Linked DNA regions of Homo sapiens: regions 2, 3, 4, 5 and 6 are each linked to region 1. The links are contacts of gene promoters, found by promoter capture Hi-C in blood cells and fetal thymus (Javierre and others, 2016). All regions are on one chromosome and are shown on one strand. Each heading gives the region's core, a stretch centred on a gene start or on the middle of the fragment in contact. The rest is flanking DNA. Distances are from core to core; before and after follow the strand shown.

Evidence for each region. The method cuts DNA at HindIII sites, captures the fragments that hold promoters and counts their contacts. A CHiCAGO score of 5 or more calls a contact.
Region 2: a contact is called between a fragment that was not itself captured here and the fragment with the promoter of SS18 in region 1, in 7 of 17 cell types (activated CD4 T cells, non-activated CD4 T cells, total CD8 T cells and 4 more). The highest score is 17.3, in activated CD4 T cells.
Region 3: a fragment that was not itself captured here is called in contact with the fragment with the promoter of SS18 in region 1 in 7 of 17 cell types (activated CD4 T cells, non-activated CD4 T cells, naive CD4 T cells and 4 more); the score reaches 22.4 in activated CD4 T cells.
Region 4: a contact is called between a fragment that was not itself captured here and the fragment with the promoter of SS18 in region 1, in 7 of 17 cell types (activated CD4 T cells, naive CD4 T cells, non-activated CD4 T cells and 4 more). The highest score is 24.1, in activated CD4 T cells.
Region 5: a fragment that was not itself captured here is called in contact with the fragment with the promoter of SS18 in region 1 in 8 of 17 cell types (activated CD4 T cells, naive CD8 T cells, naive CD4 T cells and 5 more); the score reaches 23.1 in activated CD4 T cells.
Region 6: a contact is called between a fragment that was not itself captured here and the fragment with the promoter of SS18 in region 1, in 8 of 17 cell types (non-activated CD4 T cells, activated CD4 T cells, total CD8 T cells and 5 more). The highest score is 14.3, in non-activated CD4 T cells.

The regions. Positions count from the first base shown.
Region 1 is chr18:26,089,360-26,093,319 of GRCh38, reverse strand. It overlaps SS18 (SS18 subunit of BAF chromatin remodeling complex), which reads left to right and starts at 2,707. Exons shown (of 11, transcript NM_001007559.3): 1 at 2,707-2,819. The coding sequence starts at 2,751. RefSeq lists an enhancer at 2,253-2,372. The HindIII fragment of the contact is 4,894 bases long and covers 203-3,960 here.
Region 2 is chr18:26,271,822-26,275,778 of GRCh38, reverse strand. TAF4B (TATA-box binding protein associated factor 4b) reads right to left here. Exons shown (of 15, transcript NM_005640.3): 4 at 955-1,116; 5 at 726-848. Among named protein-coding and RNA genes, the nearest start is that of TAF4B, 47 kb to the right of the region's middle. The HindIII fragment of the contact is 4,735 bases long and covers 271-3,957 here.
Region 3 is chr18:26,319,862-26,323,401 of GRCh38, reverse strand. It overlaps TAF4B (TATA-box binding protein associated factor 4b), which reads right to left. Exons shown (of 15, transcript NM_005640.3): 11 at 2,202-2,332. Among named protein-coding and RNA genes, the nearest start is that of TAF4B, 95 kb to the right of the region's middle. The HindIII fragment of the contact is 1,318 bases long and covers 629-1,946 here.
Region 4 is chr18:26,340,051-26,343,549 of GRCh38, reverse strand. The region is part of intron 13 of TAF4B (TATA-box binding protein associated factor 4b); the gene reads right to left. Among named protein-coding and RNA genes, the nearest start is that of LINC01543, 81 kb to the left of the region's middle. The HindIII fragment of the contact is 2,578 bases long and covers 67-2,644 here.
Region 5 is chr18:26,301,044-26,304,557 of GRCh38, reverse strand. All of the region lies in intron 9 of TAF4B (TATA-box binding protein associated factor 4b), which reads right to left. Among named protein-coding and RNA genes, the nearest start is that of TAF4B, 76 kb to the right of the region's middle. The HindIII fragment of the contact is 6,908 bases long and covers 1-3,514 here.
Region 6 is chr18:26,248,870-26,252,878 of GRCh38, reverse strand. The region is part of intron 1 of TAF4B (TATA-box binding protein associated factor 4b); the gene reads right to left. Among named protein-coding and RNA genes, the nearest start is that of TAF4B, 24 kb to the right of the region's middle. The HindIII fragment of the contact is 3,163 bases long and covers 141-3,303 here.

The sequences.
Region 1 (3,960 bases), core at 1,458-3,957:
CTCTTAAAACTAGTGGTCAGGTGAGATGGGACTTATTATGTTCCCCTAAGTATCCCCTAGCTCAGGACTCTTACATTACAAAGGCCCCAAAATTTTAAGAAAGATCTTCCAGGCTTCAGTCTCAATCTTTCCTCTTTCCGAATTTTCTATTTTTCCAGGTCAGGCTAACTGATTGGATTGATTGGGTTTTAGCAAGGAAGCTTGAGGGTGAAGTAGTTCTTTTTAAGTATCCTCTCTCAAGGAGATCATTTGTATTTCTGGCTGGACTTATAGAACAATGCTTTTCAACTGATTTCATGTGATCAGACACAGAAAATAATGGTATCTTTATGGCATACATGGTGTCACAGAAAAGACTGTGGCTATCCATGCCTGCAGGCTATGGGTTCTCTGGGCCCTACCCTGCTACTCTGAAGAAATAAACATCTCAGGCCAACTGTAACCTGTTTTCAGTGGATTTCCCTTTCTCACCTTTGGGGAGCTGTAATTTAAATAAAGAAGGTAACTAGCTCCAGGTGCCTCCCTGGAATAGAAGCCCCCTTGGACTACTTATTTTTTTGCTGGGATATGGAAATTAGACAAGTGTTCCTACTGGTTCATGTTGCCCTTTGAAGTTTCAGTGCTATCTGCCAAATGCACAGAACTGGAGCAGTAGGACTATTTACGATTCATGTTTCCTATTGAAATACTGTTCTTAGCTACTAAGTACTAAGGTACTTTTGTGTAAAGCATTGAGACATGACTCTGCATGCTAGGTGTTGAGTGCACAGTGATAGTGGTAGACAAGTATTGGTTTCCAAATTTGACAGTTTTCCAATTTGGTGTGATTACCTTAAGTCCAGCTATACCAGAGTGTTTTCTTCAAGGCTTACAATAGTGAAAGATAACAATTAAATTTTTAAGAGTAATTACTGTCAGTAGCAGCATAAACTTTCTTCCCTTTATTCTTATGACAGCTTGAGTCTTCATCCTTTAGGTCCCAGTTTAAATATAATCGGGAAGACTTTTCACACTAACTCATGTAAGTGTTCCTGTCATTCTGTTAGTTCCTCCCCCTTTTTTTTGGCTAGTTTTTCTTGGGACTTTGCATATATACATATTTGTTTGTTTCTGGTCTGTTAGTCCCATTAGTGTATAAGCTCCTTGAGAGGAGGTTCCATGTCCAGCTTATTCACAATCGTACCCTAGGTTTCCAGTATAAAGCCTAACAAACAATGCATTTAATCAATGACATTCTTGACATTTTTGTGAAGAGCATTTATTTGATACTTAATTTTTCTTTTTTTTTTTTTGAGACAGGGTCTTGCTGTGTCACCCAGGGTGGAGTGTGGTGGGGCAGTCATGGCTTACTGCAGTCTCCACCCCCTTGGCTCAAGTGATTCTTCCACCTCAGCCTCCTTAGTAGCTGGAACTACAGGTGCACACCACCATACCCAGCCAATTTTTAAAATTCTTGTAGAGACAGAGGTCTCACTTTGTTGCCCAGGCTGGTCTCAAACTCCTGGCCTCAAGTGATTAAATTTTTAAAATAATGTATTTTTTCTTTATTTTTCCAATTTATATAAAAATGGAAATATTTTTTATTATTCATTAACGTTGGGTAACACTTTATATAAACTTTCCCTTTGTGTTATATGGAAGTCTAAATTTACAGAATACTTTAAAACCCCACGGCAACACAAAACCCACATTTGTCCGTGTTCCTTCCATAATTTGAAAACTTTGCCTTTTTCCCTTACACTGACTTGAAGCCTGGCAGCTTGGGCCTAATTTACAAGGCACTAAGTAAGTACTCTCTTAAAAAACAGAGAGTGAGGATGCCCTGTTTCACAACTTAATTCCAAAAAGCCAAGTCAGACGAAATCGACCCACTTTCCTGCTAAGGGTTTGTCCCAAGAGGCGAGCTCTTCTCTGTCCGCTCCAGCCAAGCTGGCCGATTGCCCCTGAGCACTGGACACAACCTTGGTGTCCCGGTTTCGGGTCAGGGTTACTTTCCAATTGTTAGGCACGACTTTGTGCGTGCGTGCGAGACTGTGGACTCGGAGGTGCGCATTTGGGGCGTAGCCGAGCCATTTAAACCAGCGAATCCGCGTTCACCTTGTCCTTCCACCTCTGCCCTATCTCGGCAGATGCTCCACGGATTTGCACGAACTCCCGAGTCTTGACCTCCCTCCCCTCTCCGGGCTGCCGGGACAACTCGGGGCGGCCACTCTTGCCAGGAGGCGTAAGTAAGGATGAAGTTGGAAAAACTGAACTAGGTCTAGGGCACGCTCTGCAACACAGTCGGGGAGACGCTTCAGAGGGCCGGAGAGGGAGGCAAGTTGCCACGGCGCGAAGGGGGCGGGCCGGCTTGGGCCGCTCGCATTTCCTGTGACAGGGGCTGCCCCAGCCTCTCCTTCTCCCGCGGCGGCGGGACCATTTCCTGAATCGCTGAAGCGGAGGGAGGACTAGGGCGCGACTCTACCATTAGCGCAAAGGGCCAGGGGGTGCCCATAAGGAGAGCTCGGGGGATGCAGGGACGGTCAAGAAAGTTCGGCCAGGGCTAGGGGTCCCCCAGAGTGCGCAGAAGCGAGACATCCCTGGCCAGAGTGCCTCCTTCAGGCCTGCCCCGCCGCCCGTCCGCTTGGCCCCGGAGCATCCCCCCTCCCCGCATTCCCGAGGTGGTTCAGCCCGAGAGGCCGGCGTCTCTCCCCCAGTTTGCCGTTCACCCGGAGCGCTCGGGACTTGCCGATAGTGGTGACGGCGGCAACATGTCTGTGGCTTTCGCGGCCCCGAGGCAGCGAGGCAAGGGGGAGATCACTCCCGCTGCGATTCAGAAGGTGAAACCGCGCGGGGTTGCGGATGCCAGGCCCTTACCGCCTCTGGGAGAGACAGACGCGGGGGGAAGGGCCGGGCCCGGAGTCGACCGGGCCGAGGCGGAGGCGGGCCTGCTGGGAATCAGCAGTGTTTGGGAACACGGACTGCTGGCTGTGCCTGAGTGGGTGGCGGAAGAGGGTGAACCGGTTTTTCTCGGAGTCTTTCACGCATTTACGCGTTTTTCTACAGACACAAAAGCCCAAACAGCCGCCGCCTGATTTCTCTAGGGATGGGGCGGCGTTCGGGCTGCGGGGCGCGTGCGCCCGGCGGCGGCCGCTCAGGGAAGGGCGTGTGTCGGACCGGCGGCCCCGCGCGTTGCTCCGGAGTTACTTTGGCGTCGCCCCGCCCCGCGTGCCGCGGCTGCTTCGTGCGGACCCCACCGCGGGTCGCGGCAGGCAGAGGGGAAGTCGGTGCGCTGGTCGCCGCCCTGCAAACTCAGCCGAGTTTGGGAGCTCGCAGGAGGACTTGGGGAACGCTGGAGGGAACCTTAGTATAGAGTTTGAGGAGCGGGCAAGGAAGGTCCCCATGGACTCTGGGGTTGTCCCCAGAGCCTCTTCTTCCCTTCTGCATCGCCGCCTATTCATTTATTCTGCAGCAAATATTTATTGAGCGCCTATTTTAGGCGCTGAGGCTACTGTGGTGAGTCATGGTCCTTGCCTTCCTGGAGCTTACAGTCTAATGGTGGAGACTGTCGTGACCAGTTAATGTAAGTCGTGATAAATACACAGGGAGCTGCCTCCTTTTTAAAGGATAGAGCTGCTGCAGTCGCTGCTGTGTTACTGCCAGTCGGAACACAAAGGTTCTTTATTGTCCTCTACCCCTTGTTGCCTGCAAGCAAGGCAGCATTCTAAATTTTACTGACCTAGACTTTCAGAAGTTGCTGCTGTATTTAGCAGTTTACTTTAAATATTTTTGTTTTGTTTTATGCTGTGTAGCAAAGATCAAAATAGAAAAAAAGGTCAAGTTTTAGTACCACTCAGACCACGTAGATTATGCTAATCGGTTTCTGTTTACTGTCAGGTTCTTCGTAGTGTGGCTTTTGACATTTGCCCAACTGTTGCTTTATTTTATGAACAAACGGGCTTGGCAGTGCCTGGAAATGCA
Region 2 (3,957 bases), core at 1,389-3,888, 180 kb before region 1:
CTCCCAAAGTGCTGGGATTACAGGCATGAGCCACTGTGCCCAGCAGAGATTTCATAATTCTAATAACAATTTCCTATTGACTAAATAATGAACCTTTTCTCCAAGGCCCTTTGTAGAGTAAGGGAGGCAAGACTGATGTACAGAAATAATATATATATCAAAACATCATGTTGTATACCTTAAACATATACAATTTTTTTAAAAAGGTAAATTTTCAAAAGAAATATACAATAGGTTTTTCTAGCCAAGATTTATAGTCTTTACAAAGCTTTCAAGAAGCAAAAAACAAAATTTATCAAGAACTACATTTAAAATAAATCTCAGGCCGGGCTTGGTGGTTCACGCCTGTAATCCCAACGCTTTGGGAGGTCAGGGCAAGTGCATCACTTGAGGCCAGGAGTTTGAGACCAGCCCAGCCAACATGGCAAAACCCCGTCTCTACTAAAAATACAAAAATTAGCCGAGCGTGGTGATGCACACCTGTAATCCCAGCTACTCAGGAAGCTGAGGCAGGAGAATCATTTGAACCCAGGAGGCAGAGGTTGCAGTCAGCCTAGATCACGCCACTGCACTCCAGCTTGGGCAACAGAGCGAGACTCTGTCTCAAAACATAAATTAAATAAATAAATAAATTAAATAAATCCCATTTAAAAATATGCATTTCCCAATTACAACATGTTATATGGATTCCTCCAGAATTTGCAGGATTTTATAGCACTACTTACCAAAAGTTGTTCCACCAGCTTCTTCACATTTTGCCCCATTTCTGGGGACTGTGATCCACTACATGCTAGTTTTATTAACATTGCAAGGAAGTTCTTGCATTTCTTCACATTTTCTAGCATTGTCTAAATATGAAAATGTAAATATAAGCAAACACAAGTGTTAGTGAGCAAACAATTCAAAAGAACTTGCAAGGAACAAGATTTATGTAAGGTGCAAGTAAGAGCTTACCGGAGAAAGATTAATCTGAACAGCTGCTGAGTTCTCTGCTTTAAGATTGGGCTCATTTGAAGGAGTGGATGATGCTCCCAAACTTGAAGGCTTCAGGGTAGTTACAGTATTCAATGGCTTTCCAGGAGTAACTGTGACGACACTGGTTGGCACAGCCACAGACTGAAATTAAAGGTATTAAATATTTAGGCATGTATTACTATGATACATTAGTGGGTGCCTCATTTCACACTCATCAGACAAGTTAATTTTGACATCTGTGGTTTTATGTTATGCTCTAGTAGTCTAAGGCAATATAATACAGTTCTAGGAACTCTTGAGTCTAGCAGATCTGGGTTTCATTCTCACCCCATCTACTATTTCATTACCACCTACCAAGTGTTGACTGCAGGCAAGTTACTTAATCTTGCTAATCCTGATTACTCTCTGCAAAAATAGGGATTGCAACGGTACCTGCTGTCCTAGGATTTTTTGTGAAAAACAGTGCTAAAGCAAATAAGTCCTCAAAAAATATTATTAATACTCCAAGAAGTATCTGAAAGTCTTTATGAGAACATAGAATATTCTGCTTTTTCTTAAGAACAAAGCAGAGCAATCTACTTATTATCTAAAATTTAGATAAACTGCTTTTATGTAGACCATTAAAGTAAGCATGAAGAATATTATAAAACGTGGTATCTTATATTCACACTGAAAAGAATTTCAGTTGTTTCTCTACCTTCTATCAAAATGAGGTGTGACTCTAGCTAGCATCACCTACAGGACAAAAACCTCATACAAGCAATCACAAGTCAGGCAGTAATTTAGAAAATCACATTGAGATAAAGCAACAATCTTAAAGACAAACACTAAAAGTTACAGAACATAATAAAAGTTTGGGGATCAGGGATAAGGAATAGTATTTACATACAATTCACACAGAAAACTGAACAATGCACCATCATTTAATTTAAATGTCTATGTTCTACAAGCATGCAACACAAAAAGGTCAAGTTGCAATCACCTTCAAGAAAATTTCCTTCTATAATAGTCAAGATAGGTGAATTTGAATGTACAATAAAATCTCCCACATTAGAGAGACTGGAATATGTACTAGACAAGAATGTTCTGAGGGTAAAAAATGGGAAGAAGGACAAGTGCAGTGGCTCACACTTACAATACCAGCACTTTGGAAGGCTGAGCCAGGAGGATTGCTTGAGGACAGGAGTTCGAGACCAGTCTGGGTAACCTAACAAGACCCTGTCTCTAGAAAAAAATTTTCTTTACAAACAGGAAGAACATTTAAAATGCTGAGAATTGATAGAAGGAGAGGAGTGGGGACACATGGTGGCCCTAACATGGGTTTGGGGTATATGGGCCTTCATTTTACTATTATTTTTTTCAACAGCAGACATATTACATATGTGTACATATTACATATGTGTACATATCACATGTAGTCTTGTTTGCATGTATATTTCATAATGCATAATAAAAATATTAAATACCATATGCTAATACATTTGAAACAAAACCAAAAGGGTTTTTGGAAAAACATGAAATGACAAAATTAGCACAAAACACAGAAACTAGAATAGACAAATTAAAGACATTGAAATGATACCCAAAAAGACCTCCCTCCCTCAAGTCTCCAGGCTCAGATATTTTCCATGTGATTTTTCCACACTTTTGCATAACTCCTGTCTTATACAACATGTTCTAGAAAAACAGAATAGGGAAAGCTGTTCAGTTCATTTTATGAGAAAGGTCTGTAACATATTTCAATATTGAATAAGGATAATAAAAGAAAAGTAAACTAAAGGCTCACCTGGCAAAAACTTTAATAAGATTTTAAAATTACTGATTAATGATGAGGACTAGAACAATAAAGTTTTTAACAAAAGAGATAAAATTAAAAATTACACCTAAGTTAGTACAATTTTGTTAAATATAGAGCCTCAAATGCACATTCAAAAGGAAGTCTCCCTCCTTTTCATATCTTTAGTCCTGCTCTCCAACCTACCACTCAGTTTCTTCTGAATTCTTGTGGAGATTTTCTAATAAATTTTTAGTTTTCTATACAGTAAATAAGCCTCTTTCTTTAGTCTATCTTATAATCAGTCATTAACTCTCTGTACTGCCATATTTAAGAAAGTGTAATCTGGAATTTTAGCTGGTGGTTATGATCACCTCTGAGGACTGATGGGAGAGGTTCCTTGGGGGTGTACTGTCCCCCTCCCTCAGGAAGCAAACTAAGGTCCAACTGAAATGTGAGTTTAGGAAAAACGTCCTATCGTTTACAAGTAGAGGGGGCATTTATGGAATTCTATTTTCCTTGTCAATGTTTTATCCTGTCTCCAGTAAAAAAAAAATCTGTCCTTCATAACACTTTCTAGTATAGCTACTACTTGTATCTTACCACAGGGGTCCCCAACCCCTGTGCCGCGGGCGGGTATAGGTCTGTGGCCTGTCAGGAATAGAGACACACAGAGGAGGCAAGTGAGCATTACTGCCTGAGCTTTGCCTCCTGTCAGGCCAGCGGTGCCATTAGTCTCATAGCAGCATGAACCTTCTCGTGAACTGCACATGCAGGTGATTTAAGCTGCACTCTCCTCGTGAGAATCTAATGCCTGATGATCTTGATAGACGCAACCGGAAGATTAGGGGAAAGGTTCCAGAAGAATCCCCCACGCGCCTGCCCACTGGGAGGAGGAGGGGTGGAGCCTCAGGAAGATCAGGCCCTTTGCAAGGGGGAGGAGCCTGGCCTCTCCTGTTCCTGTGTGGTGACCCGAGATTCAATTTGTGAGATGGGGGCCTGCTAACGGGAACCCCTCTGGCTTTGCTGAGTTTTTTTTTTCTTTTCGCCTAATAAATTCCATTCCCCCTCACCCTTAAAAGTGTCTTTTTTTTTTTTTTTTTGAGACGGAGTCTGGCTCTGTCCACCAGGCTGGAGTGCAGTGGTGCGATCTCGGCTCACTGCAATCTCCGCCTCCTGGGTTCAAGTGATTCTCCTGCCTCAGCCTC
Region 3 (3,540 bases), core at 38-2,537, 230 kb before region 1:
CCACTGCACTCCAGCCTGGATGACAGAGTGAGACCCTGTCTCTAAAACAAAAAGAAAAATAGAGCTCCACAATAGTTGAAGATTTTAATACTGCACTTTCAATAATGAATAGAACATCCAGATGGATGATCAATAAGGAAACAGAGGACTTAACATTATAAACCAACTATATCTATCAGACATCTATGAAACAAGAGCAGAACACACATTCTTCTCAAGTGCACATGAAACATTTTCCAGGATACAATGTATGTTAAGTCATAAAACAAGCCTCAGTACATTTTAAATGAATGATTCATACAAAGTATCTTCTCTGACCACAACGGAATACAGCTAGAAACCAACAACAAAAGGAAAACTGGAAAATTCCCACATATTTGGAAATTAAACAACATACTCTACAGTCACAAAGAATCAAATAAATCTCAAAAGAAATGAGAAAATATTTAAAGATAAATGAAAACGACAACACAACATACCAAAACTTATGGAATGCAGTGAAAGCAGTACTCAGAGGGAAATGTATAGTAGTAAACGCCTACATTATAAAAGGAAGATCTCAAATAAAAAACCTAACTTTACATCTTATGAAACTAAAAAAAAAGAAGAGCAAACTAAGCCTGAAGCTTAGAAGGAAAATAATATAAAAACTAGAGTGGAGATACACGAAATCAAAAATAGAAAAACAGAAAATTAATAAAACCAAAAGTTGGTTATTTGAAAAGCTCAACAAAATCAACACACCATTCGCTTTACTAGCAAAGAAGAAAAAGAGAGAAGATGCAAATAACAAAAATCAGTAATGTAAGGGGGATCATTACCATTGACCTTACAGAAATAAAAGGTTACAAGACAGTATTATTAACAGTCCTATGCCAACAAATTAGATAACCTAGGAGAAATGAAAAAATTCCTAGAAACACAAAATTAATATCTTTATTTATTTTTGTGTGTTTCTAGGAATTATAAAATACTGATATTAATTTTTTGTTTTTTTCATAGCTTTTTCTCCTGTTGATCACATATTCCTAAGTCAGTCCAGCAAATTCTCACAAAGATTTATGCAAGTGAGGACCTTGGCAATCATATGTAGTTTTTCCAAAGTTCTAAATGGAAAGGAAAAAAAAATAAAATAATATGATTCCTCCAGGGAACTTACTGGTGGTGTAGTAGCTGACAATTTCCTAGTTTCCTTTAACCTTTGACTAGGATATCACGGCAATGACCATTCTTCCAAATTCAAAATCTCTTAAGGTTACCTACATACCATCTTGTTCAAAATCTAGCTATAAACATTTCTTGGAAAGAGGGAAACAGTTATCTTATTTATTTATTTATTTTCAACTCAGGTTACCTTCTCTTTTCATCCCTAATCACCCAATATATTCGCCCTCCTCCAAAACTACATCAAGTTATTTTACCTTGATAACAGCAAGTCATTTGGTTCATACCACTAGGGATACAAGCTATTCCTGTATTTAGTTTTTTTAATAAAAGTAGCCAATAACACTTAGTAGCATCAATATGAGCACTCAATGCAATCATTTAACTTATTAAAAGGAACAGAGGATGAACAAGTGGAAAGATCTAATGTAGAACATAAGGACTATGGTTAGTAATATATTGTTTTCAGGATTTCTGCTAAATGAGTAGATTATAGCTGCTTTTGCCACAGGGGAGAAAATGGGTAGATTTGAGATAATGAAAATGTTAACTTATTCAACTAAATAGTAATAATTTTACTATACATGTGTATCTTTAACACGTTGTATACCTTAAATATTAATATATACAATAAAATTTATTTTAAAATAAATCAATCTCTGGAAAACTGAAAGGCAAAAAAAAAAAAAGGAACAGGAATGCGAGGAGAGTGCAGAACACTGAAGAGAACACAAGTAGCCAATATTCCATTCTAACATATCTTTCCTTCCCCATCAAAAGCTTAAGAGAAGCCTCATGCAGAACAGATACATATTTCAATCTACAGTGACACAGAAGCTTTTAATATCATTTTAAACTCCATTTTAATTTTATTTGTCATGTAAGCTTATCTAAATAAGAATGAGACTTTGATTTTCCACTAATATGAAATATAAGCCTCAACCATTCCTTTAAAAACGTGTTTAGAATATCAATCCACGCCCAAAAGACTACCTATAACACTCGAGAGTTTATACTTCTTTAATGATTTCCTTTACCTTGTAAGTAGTCATTCGATGCTGAGCAATTGCAGTCAGTTTTTCTAGAAGGCCTCGTAGTCGTTCCTGTGTTGCTTGGGAGATCAAGTTCACAGCATCAGAGTTAAGTTCTGTAATGTCATGCTTTTTACCTGCAGAAGCAGAGAAAATCCATTACGTGTTTTAGTAGTGGCTGATAATTGAAATAATTAGCACAGCAGGTATTCTGTTCCCCCTGGAAGTCATACCCATTATGAATAAAGGTTTGGAGATTATGATTTTCCTAGTAAAGTCACAACTTCAAAGATCTTAGACATTACATTAATAAAACCTAGCCTGAAGCCTCAGAAAATATAGACATTGTTTCACTTAGCCTCTAGAATCATTCTCCTTGCAAGGTCATTTATAGGACAAAGTTAATAAGAACACAAATCAAGTCTATTGTTCAGGGAGGAAAATGGTAACTGCAGAAATTAGTACCATATTCTGTTAATTTTAGTAATTAAAAAAATAGAAAATTACATTTTGCCCTGTTTGACACTGTTAACAATTTATGACATTTATTTAAATGAATTCAGATTATGAGTCTCTGTTAATGCCTTGTCTACAAGACATACCTATATTCCTTTTGTCTATTACCAATCATGTTTACTTTGCATTAACTGATGTTCTGATATATTCACTTAGTAGTCAATTTACAAGTTCAAATGGGTTCAAAACCTCATCGTTTCACCTACCTATCTGAATAACTTCTCTCTCACTAGATTTCCTTTCCATAAAAAAATCAAACTTCTTCCTTCTGCTAACTAGCAAGAAAGTTTCAGGAAAACAATTTGGACCACATACTCAAAAGAGTCAGAAGTTCATTTATAAATCAACCTTGTCCGTAATTTAAATAGTACTTCTCAGCCCCAGTGAAACCACTTATATCAACAGAGGCTTAAATCTAAAGATACAGGCAATTAGGTCATCTGTTTTAAATAGGCTTTTTAAAAAGCACTACTGTGATTGTTTTTAACATATACACATGAATTTTTAAAATATTATAGTTTGATTTTATATTCTAATTTACCTGAAATATACTCTTATATTCTCATCAAAGGGTGAACTACAGAAAAAATATGCTTGAATTAAAAGTCAATAACTCAAATACATTGATATTATATAATGAAAGCAAATAGGAAGATACAAAATTAATCAACTTCTCCTAAACCAACCCTTCAAAATGTAATTCATTACTTGTAACAAAGCTGAAATCCTCTCTAATCTCAGATTCAGGCAGGGAAAAAAATTCTACAAAGTCAACTCTACTTTAATAAAACCCTCAGCATAGGCCAGGCATGGTGGCACACGCCTGTAA
Region 4 (3,499 bases), core at 106-2,605, 250 kb before region 1:
CAAGCCACAGGTTCCAATGTGACTTCTGTGATCTGTGGCTACAACGTCAGCTCAGTTTTCAAAGCTTTTGCAATGTTATTTGGATCTGCCCTGTGCATCCCCCAGTGGTCAATCTGGGATCTGGTGGTGGTTTGTTGGTCCAGTTCTTAAAGGCTTTGGTACGCTCATTAGAATAAGATCCACATATGGCAAATGTATAGTTCAGGAGTAGGTCTAGGAGTTTAACACAATCACATGGGGTTGCTTTCCTGAGCTCCTCCCTCTCTGTCATCTTCCCAGTAATTTCTGGTTCCCTGGAGCTCCTCCTGGCCAGAAAGCTGGGGATTTAGCCCACTTTCCCACCCACGTCTGTGATTGCATCCAGGTCTAGAATCAAGCAGTAGGAAGAATGGGGGTAGGGGATGGAGGGTGGCAACCTCACCACCAGTTCAAGTAGTATTTTGAATTCTTATCTTCTTCCCCAATCTGTTTACTATTTACCTTTCAATGTCCTCAAATAGCTGCTCCATGCATCTGTTCAGGTTTTATAGTTGTATTCAGTGGGAGAGAAAATATGAAGTGTTTTTACTCCATCTTAACTGGAACTCTTTAATAGCCAGAATTCTGACAATTGGTTTCTGTTATATTATATACTGACTAGCCTTTGTTTAATAAAATGTAAGACTGCTTGCTCACCAACACCAGCAACAAACACCTTGCTCCAAAGAGACCAAACAGGTTTGGGAGGTTCTCTTTTAAGAATATGCTATTTCCTTTATGGCTAATGAAAAAGGCAGAAGCCTTCATTTCTCTTTTCACAGTCTCTATGATAGGAAGTAGAAGTCTCTAAAATTCAAGGTAGTGCCTTAGAAGGCAACTAAGCAACAGTAATTGAAGATTATTTTATTTCTGGTGTTAGGTACTCATCTCTTCATTTATAAGTATAACTCATGGTAGTACAGCCTTTAATCAAGACCCAAAAAACATTAAGAAATTACTTTGAAGATCACACAAGTTCTCAGAGGTAACGTTCAATAGACGTACTTCTTGATGCTAAGCACATAATTTTCAAGAATAAAAGGAAAATTAAAAACTATTGAAAACAGAAACCAAAAGATTAAGCAGAATCAGAGGTACTAGCTGAAGAATGAATAAACCAAGTTTCATATTAGCTAACAGCCTGGACAGGAACAGGGGCACATTTAACAGGAAGAACCAAATTTATCTAGATAGTTATGATATAGACAATATGGGAAATCAAAAAATGTTTTTCTTTCTCATGCTTAAGGAAAGTGTTAGTAGCAATGAAAATAATCACACCACCAAATAGGAATGTATGAAAAAATCTAAAGAAATTAGAGAAACAAAGTGTATCACACCAGGTTTTGAACTCAGGATAAAAGAACTAAGAATAATGTCCTGCTTAGATTTCACAATTAACGTTAAGTACACATAAAGGTAAAAACAAAACCCTAACACCAAACAATGGAAATGTTTTAAATAGTAAAAATTTAAATTGAATTAGATATACTTTGGAAAATTTCATGGATCAAACTCTAAAATTCTTAACAATGCTGATAATTACATCTGAATCATTACTTAAAAGATCAAGTTTACCAGGGAATGCAAGGTTAAATGCTAAAATAAACAAAACAAACAAACAGGAAAAAAAAACTACTAAACATTAACAGCTGAATCTTAAGTCAAGGGAACCAAAAAGCAAGTTGCAAATTTTTAAAAAATCACCAGTCCACCTTATCTTAACTTCAAGGATACCACAACCGAAATACAAGATCTTTTTTAAGCCCTCAAAGACAATTATTAGCAGTCATTCCACCAAATCAAACAGTTTAGAATCTATTTTTTTTTCTCCCAACCACTAAGGCTGGTTATTATGATACCAGGACACTGTCCAGAACATCTGAGATTCCTGGAATTTGATACGTAAACTGTGGTGCCTTGCTGGTCAACCCTACTCATCCATCCCTACCTTCCTGAAAAAAATGGTATATTCCTCATAATCTCAATTAGACACCTTCTCTCTTTAACTTAAACCAATAACATTTGATTTATAAATTGTGTAAAATATAAATGTGCTACAGTTATTCTATATTACAAAATTTTTTTTTCAGTTGTCATCCTTACACTCTTTTTTCTTCTCATTTTCTTTCCAGTCCTCTGGAAGGAAAGAAAGAACATATTCATGGTCTATCTCAAACCTAAATCTAAGAGCTCAATGACATCTATCTTAAATGTTCCTACAGTTAGTGTTTATAAACTACTGGTTTTTTCTTTTATGCCTCGCCTTCCCCTAAATTATGACAATCTTATAAGCAGAGCAGGAATCGTTAAGTTCATTTAAATATGAGGAAACAGAGGTAAGTTCAAAGAATTAAATCAAGCTCTTGATAATGGCAGCCTGAATCTAGAATCCAAGATACTTTACTTCCAGTTCAATGCTATTTTTTTTTTAAACAGGCATCTTTCTACTAAGAGAGTAATAAGTCTCTCAAAACACATAGATCCTACACATCAAAATAAAGTATGCACGCAATCTTCTTATGAATCTCTAATATTTTCTTTTCCATTTAAGGTATACCAGTAAAGAAATACTACCATTAAAGTTATCTTGTAAAAATATCCATGAAGGAAACCTAGTGAAGCTTTCATGGTTCCAAGAGAACCTAATGAATGATAATTGGATGATAAATGAACTATGACAGTTCAAGAGGCCAAATCTCAGATTCCCAAATCACAGTATTTTGACCATTTAGTTAGTGGGAAAATAAAAGTGATGACTTTTAAAGCCCCCCTTCTTTCTCATCCTAGATCAATGATTCTCAGTGTGATCTGCAGAGCAGCAGCAGCAATAGCAGCAACATCTGGTAATTTATTGGAAATCCCATTTTCAAGTCCTACCCTAGACCTACTACAGTATTATAAACTCTGGTTGTGGGACCTAGTAATCTGTATTTTAACAAGCTCTCCAGATAATTTTATGCATGTCAACGTTTGAGAACCACTGTCCTAGACTATCAATGCTTTGAAACCTTTCAATCTGTTTCTCTGCTGTCATACACAAGTTATTTATAACTTGTCATTTTAAGAATGTCTTCCTCTTGCTATATTAATTTGATTGCTAGAATGTACTTTTCATGACAAGTTTCATTTGTCCCTGTCCAGTACTCCATGAGTTTTGGCCATGTAGAACTTGCATGAAGTTTAAATACAAATTGATATAATTTAATAGTTTACCTATCACCTTTCATTGACTTCATATATTTTCAAATTTCATTTTAAAAATATACTGTGCTGTTCTCGTACCTAAATATTTTCTAATCAGTAATGAGCCTTATGATTCAGTATTTTATTTCTTGTACAATGTTTTATGAAGAATTGCACCAACAGTTTTTATAACCTATATTTTCTATAAACAAAAATCCCAAAAACTTTAGGATATAGGGCTTCTAATCTGGTCTACATTTTAATCATTTAGTATTTATTCTTTTTCCCAGTTCCT
Region 5 (3,514 bases), core at 277-2,776, 210 kb before region 1:
CTCTCTGGAAGAAAGCAAACTCAGTTTAGACCCTCAGGTTTAATCTGATTTACCTGTCCCACAAAGTTTTAGATTTATTGACTACATTTTTTACTTCTAAAAGTCCTATTTGGTTCTTTTTCAAGTATTTGCAGTCATTTTTAAAAATAGTTTCTTGCTCATTCTTGAGATTCCGTATTTTATTTTTAAATACTTTATACTATTTTTTAACACTTACTATTTGATCATCCTATGTTTGAAGTCACTGGAATTCCAAATGTATTACTGTTTCCCTGTAGCTTGACTCAAGGATACTTCCTTGCATGTTTATCTTTAAATGTGAACATATATTTTATATGAACACCCAAAAACAATGGAATAACATCTTCAAAGCAAAAAAAAAAAAAAAACAGTCGACCTATAATTCTAATCTCAATCTTGACATTGTCTATATAAATAATCTAAAATCATCTAGAAATTATTAGAAATAATAACAAGGCTGTTGGTATATGATTTTTTTAAGTCCTGAATTTCTCTATGCTAGTAAAAGAAAAGGCAGTTACCAAAAATATTACTTATAATAACAACAAGAAAGATATCTAGGAATAAATCTAACAGATAAATGCAACAAATCATGCAGAATCTGCATAAATAAAATTATACTACTTTATTGAAAGATGTTTAAAAAGGTATATATAATGGAGATATAAATCATGTTCATAGAAGGATCCAAATTATAATAAATCAGCTGGAAGACAGTGGGCCTATGGACTCAGGCCACGCCAATTCAAATTCTAACAGATTACTGGTAGAATTTAACAAGTTGATCATTAAATGTATAGGGAATAGCAAAAGCCCAAGTAGAGCCAAGGAGTATGAAAGTGGAGGGAGTATGAAAGTGGAGGGGGTATGAAAGTGGAGGGGGTATGAAAGTGGAGGGGGTATGAAAGTGGAGGGAGGATGAAAGTGGAGGGAGGATGAAAGTGGAAGGGGTATGAAAGTGGAGGGGGTATGAAAGTGGAGGGAGGATGAAAGTGGAGGGGGTATGAAAGTGGAGGGAGGATGAAAGTGGAGGGGGTATGAAAGTGGAGGGAGGATGAAAGTGGAGGGGGTATGAAAGTGGAGGGGGTATGAAAGTAGAGGGAGGATGAAAGTGGAGGGAGGATGAAAGTGGAGGGAGGATGAAAGTGGAGGGAGGATGAAAGTGGAGGGAGGATGAAAGTGGAGGGGGTATGAAAGTGGAGGAGGTATGAAAGTGGAGGGAGGATGACAGTGGAGGGGGTATGAAAGCGGAGGGAGGATGAAAGCGGAGGGAGGATGAAAGTGGAGGGAGTATGAAAGTGGAGGGAGTATGAAAGTGGAGGGGGTATGAAAGTGGAGGGGGTATGAAAGTGGAGGGGGTATGAAAGTGGAGGGAGTATGAAAGTGGAGGGAGTATGAAAGTGGAGGGGGTATGAAAGTGGAGGGGGTATGAAAGTGGAGGGAGTATGAAAGTGGAGGGGGTATGAAAGTGGAGCGGGTATGAAAGTGGAGGAAGAAAAGGAAATAAAGAAGAAGGAGAAGTAGGTAGAAAATATGCATTACCAAATATAAAACTTCTTTTGAAATTATAGTAAATTAAACTGTATGCTATTGGAAATTTTAAAATTAACCAATAAAATGAAATAGAGATAAAAAAGATTAACTATTGATTAGAGGCATTTTAAAAAAAGAAAGATTAAAAAAAAGAGAAGATCCATATATATATGACATAGGAGACATTACAGATCACTGAGGAAGGACAAATTATTCAATAATGCTGCTAGAACAAGTGGTTTCCTATATGGGGAAAAACGAATCAGGATCTCTAAACCTCCAAACCATAGCAAAAACAAAAACCAAATTTTAACTCCTGAAGACAAAAAGATATTCAAATAGGCTGGGCATGATGGCTCACACCTGTAATCCCAGCACTTTGGGAGGATGCGGCAGGAGGATCACTTGAGGCCACCAGTTTGAAACCAGCCTGGACAACAAAGCGAGATCCTCATCTCTACAAAAAATTTAAAAACTAGCCAATTGTTATGGCGTGTACCTGTTGTCTTAGCTACTCTGGAGGCTTGTTTGAGTCCAGGAATTTGAGGTTGCAGTGAGGCATGATAGTGCCACTCAATGCACTCCAGCCTAGGTGACAGAGACCATTTCTCAAAAAAAAAAAAAAAAAAAAATTTAATATGAAACTTCAAAACTTTTAGAAGACAATATAGGAGACTATCTTTGTGATCTCCAGAAGGATCTCTAAAATAAGGCATAAGTATTAATCATAAAAGAAACTGCCAAATTCAACAACTTTAAAATTAAGAATTTCTGTTCATCAAAATATACCATAAAAGAAAGTAAATTGCAAAACACTAACTCTAGTAGATATGTGTAACACAAAAAAAGTATAAAGAATTAAAAAGGACTTCTGTTTCTGTTACAGACCATTGTAACCTCAAAACAATCAGACAATTGTTTTGAGGACAAGAAACTAATAAAGCCATAACAATTTTAAGTTTATTTGAAGGCATCAGAGAGCTGCCGAGGGAGCCAGGTCTTGAGGGACGACAGCCCTGAGAGAAGAGAACCTCACTGAAGTAACCCCAAATTTCTCCATGTTTTTTTTCCTCTGGGCACATGCTGATTCTTGACGTGGAACAAGACACTAAGAAACCACAGAGCCAGCAGCTGCTAAGAGGCAGAAAAGCCAACAGAGCATTAGGCAATCTCATGAGGAGAGAGAGAGACAAGAAGTTGAAGTCCAAGGCTGCCAGAACTTGAGGGATGAATGGACCATGATCCTATTAATAAGTGAGGCATTTACCAATGTTTTTCATACAGATCTGACATTTAATTAAATATTACCAAGTGCAGCAAAGAAACGGGATTAAAAAGCCAGATAATAGAAATAGAGTCACAGGTAACCCGGACATTGGAAACATTAAGCATTTGACTTTAACCACAAATGGCAGGGTGTGGTGGCTCATGTCTATAATCCCAGCGCTTTGGAAGGCTGAGTCAGGAGGATCACTCGAGGCCTGGAGTTCAAGACCAGTCTGGGAGACAAAGCAAGACCCCACCTCTACAAAAATAAATTTTAAAAAAAGCTAGCTAGGCATAGTGGCACATGCCTGTAGTCCCAGCTACTTGGGAGGCTGAGGCAGGAGCATCACTGGAGCCTAGAAGTTCAAGGCTGCAGTGAGCTATGATTGTGCCACTGTACTTCAGCCTGGGCAACAGAGCAAGACTGTCTCAAAAAAAAAAAAAACAACAACAACAACCAAAGAAAACCACACATGCACACAATAAAATAACTACAATTAATTGTTCAAGAACATAGAGGCAAACAACTATACCACAGGACAATAATCCATTAAAAAAGAAATGATGGTCGTGGTTTCTAGTAATGCTACAATAGTTTGATCAATAACAATTACAAAATCTACAAACAGTTTTTAAAAGGCAATCATTTGGAGACTTAATAAAGGCAGGCAGAAAACAGAGGTAAGTCAACCGT
Region 6 (4,009 bases), core at 473-2,972, 160 kb before region 1:
TACACACAGTAACATACTGGCAACAATAACTAATAATAAAATATATATAAATAAATAAAATAACTAATAAAATAATAAATAAAAATAAAAATAGAATAGAATAAAAAAATATGCCACCAGCATCACCACTCTTGTAAGCTTTGGGGCCCTTATTAATTAAAATAGGGTTACCTGAACACAAACGCTGTAATACTGTGTACTATAACAGTCAAGAGGGCTACTAAGTAACTAATAGGTAGGTAAGTGTACAGAGTGTCAATACACTGGACAAAGGAATGATTCACATTTCAGGCAGGATGCAGTGGAATGGAGGGAGATTTCATCACGATACTCAGAATGGCACACGATTTAAAACAAATTGTTTATTTCTGGAATTTTCCACTTAATATTTTTGGAGGCAGTTGACCATGGGTAAATGAAACCATTAGATAAGGGAAGAGGAACTACTATATATAGAAAATCCTAATGAACCCTCTAAAAAACTATTAGAAGTAATCAATTTAGCATGGTAGCAGGATACAAGATCAATATTCAATAATCAACTGTATTTTTATACACTTGCAATGAATAACCATAAATGAAATTAAGAAAATGATTCTATTCACAATAGCACCAAAAAGAATAATATACTTCAAGGATAAATTTAACAAAGTACAAAACTAACACTATGAAAACTAAGAAATGTCTTCATACTTTAATTACTTTCAACATGTAAAAAACACGTTGAAAAACGTATGTTGAAAGTAATTACAGAAGATCTAAATAAATGGAAAGAGATCCATGTTCATGGATGGGTAAACCTCAGACCCACCTCACTGGATTGTTAAAGGAACCAAATGAGACAATATATGTGAGAGGATTTTTGAATTTTTGAGCAGGTAGCTATTAATGCCAAGAGGTCCACAATTCAAACTTTTCTTCAACTAAGTACTCAAAACATCAGTAGGAGGCAATATTAGAATAGCTGTAGACAGGCAATGCTGAGAATAAAATAACCAGCTCATCTTCAGACCAAAGTGTTTTCAAGATGCAAAACACTCCTTTTGCAACCTTAACCAATTATTTATCTCAAAGGCCCAATGCCAATGAGAAGCAATAATATAATAGAAAGCACTTAAAAACAAAGGGAAACTGAATGTTAGTCTCTTCTCTGAAGACCAGTGACCAAGTTTCTTTGAATCCAATCCTGATAAGTATCTGAGACTCACTTTTTCCAATCATAAAAGAATGGCCTGTTTATTCTACAAGCATATTGACAGAATGTAATCATATATTAGGTTACATAGCACCGTTCCTCTATAAATATTAAGATATTAAAGTGTATCGTGGTCCAGTGTCCACTCTCTACTTGGTACATGATTTACATATTCTACCCTTCAGCCCAGTGAACTGCTACATCCCAACATCCAAAAATGCCAATTTCTTGGTGTCAAGCTGATCTGAATGGAAGTTCTCTGACTTCTCCACATTCACAGCATTTGTAAATACTGCCCCTGAAAAAATAGCAGATCCTTACAAATCTAAGAGCCTTAAAGATGCTAGAATTCATCTATTACAATTTAATACATATACAGAATGCCTCACTAGTCACCTTTTAGCCTCTTTTCAAATAGTCCAGGGTTAGGAAAACGCAGATTTCTTTGTGTCACTCTTTCACAAGCAGATCACGAATATAAGTCCTTCCTTAATATGGAACCAAACGTGCCTCCCATTAATATCCAGAGATGTGAGGGTACCTTCTGCAACCACACAGAATAAGCCCACTCTCATTTCCATAGGACTGGAAACACTTAGACGCTAAGTTGTTTCCTTCCTCAGGCACTAGAGGCCAAATTTCTTCCATTTTTCACGTCACAGTTTTCCTTACAAAGAGCTTAAAGTCACTTAAATTTCCCTCATTTCCTGAATTGAATAAATAAAAGAAAAAATTAAAGCAATCAAGAAGTTTATATCCCAGGTCGTGCTATTAGTTATGGTATATCTCCCCTATCCTCCATTTACACAGCTGATTTGCCAAAATTGAGCTTCTATTTATCTCTATTAAATTTCATTTTTTAAGGATAGGTTGTTAGATTTCAGGTGATGTTTACTTTCTTCTTTTTACTTTCCATATTTGTTGGTCTTTTTATATGTATGTATTATTTTACAAAAATAAGTTTGTTAGACAAAAACTAAACCCACAGAATATCTACCCTATTTATTACTGCATCTATGGCACTTAGCGTAGAATCCAGGATATAGTTAGCACTGATCACATTGGTAATCTCAGCACTTTGGAAGGCTGAGGTGGGTGGATCGCTTCAGCTCAGGAGTTCAAAACCAGCCTGGGCGAAATGGTGAAACCCCATCTCTACAAAAAAAAATTTTTTTTTTTTTTTTTTTGAGATGGAGTCTCGCTCTGTTGCCCAGGCTGGAGTGCAGTGGCGTGATCTCGGCTCACTGCAAGCTCCGCCTCCCGGGTTCACGCTATTCTCCTGCCTCAGCCTCTCGAGTAGCTCGGACTACAGGCGCCTGCTACCATGCCTGGCTAATTTTTTGTATTTGTAGTAGAGACAGGGTTTCACCGTGTTAGCCAGGACAGTCTCGATCTCCTGACCTCGTGATCCGCCTGCCTCGGCCTCCCAAAGTGCTGGGATAGGAGGCGTGAGCCACCGCGCCCAGCACAAAAATTTTTATAATTAGCTAAGCCTGGTGGTACCTGCCTGTGGTCCCAGCTACTTGGGAGGCTGAGGCAAGGAACACTTGAGCTCAGGAGTTTGAGGCTGCAGTGAGCCATGTTCGAGCCACTCCACTTCAGCCTGGGGGACAGAGTGAGACCCTGTTTCAAAAACAAACACAACAACAACAACAAAAACTGGACGGCTGCAGTGGCTCATGCCTGTAATTCCAGCACTTTGGGAGACCAAGGCAGGTGGATCACATAAAGCCAGAGGTTTGAGACCAGCCTGGCCAACATGGTGAAACCCTATCTCTATCAAAAATTCAAAAATTAGCCGGGCATGGTGGCATGTGCCTGTAATCCCAGCTACTTAGGAGGCTGGGGCAGGAGAATTGCTTGAACCCAGAAGGTGGAGATTATAATGAACTGAGGTCATGCCACTGCACTCCAGCCTAGGCGAAAGAAAGAATGAGACTTTGTCTCTAAAAAAAAATAAATAAAGTGTTGAGTTCACAATATAGAAAATTGTCACCATATAATGATAAGTGAAAATCAGGATATAAAAGTGGTATCACAGAATCCCAATTATGTGAAAAATAGAGAACGTGTGCATAACATTTTTATTTCCAAAGAGACAAAAAGCTTTTGGGAATGAAATGCTCTATATCTTAATTTCATTGGTGCTACACCTTTATTAAATGTTTCAGCACTCAATTCACCGTAAATGATCTTTTTTTTTTTTGAGAGAGAGAGAGAGTTTTGCTCTGTTGCCCAGGCTGGAGTGCAATCTTGGATCACTGCAACCTCTGCTCCTGGGTTCAAGCGATTCTCAAGCCTCTCCTCCCAAGTAGCTCACACTACAGGCATGTACCACAATACCCTGGCTAATTTTTGTGTATTTTTAGTAGAGACCGAGTTTTGCCATGTTGGCCTGGCTGGTCTCGAACTCCTGGCCTCAAGTAATCCACCTGCCTTGGCCTCCCAAAGTGGTGGGATTACAGGCATGAGCCACCGCACCCAGCCAGGTTCCTCTTTTTTTTTTTTTTTTTGATATGGAGTCTCGTTCTGTCACCAGATTGGAGTGCAGTGGCACAATCTCGGTTCACTGTAACCTCCAGCTCCCTGGTTCAAGTGATCCTCCTGCCTCAGCCTCCAGAGTAGCTGGGATTACAGGCACGTACCACCACGCCCAGCTAATTTTTGTATTTTTAGTAGAGATGGTGTTTCACCATGTTGGCCAGGATGGTCTTGATCTCCTGACGTCATGATCCACCCACCTCAGCCTCCCAAAGTGCTGGGATTACAGGCGTGAGCCACTGCGCCCAGCCTAGGTTCCCCTTTTTTAATAAC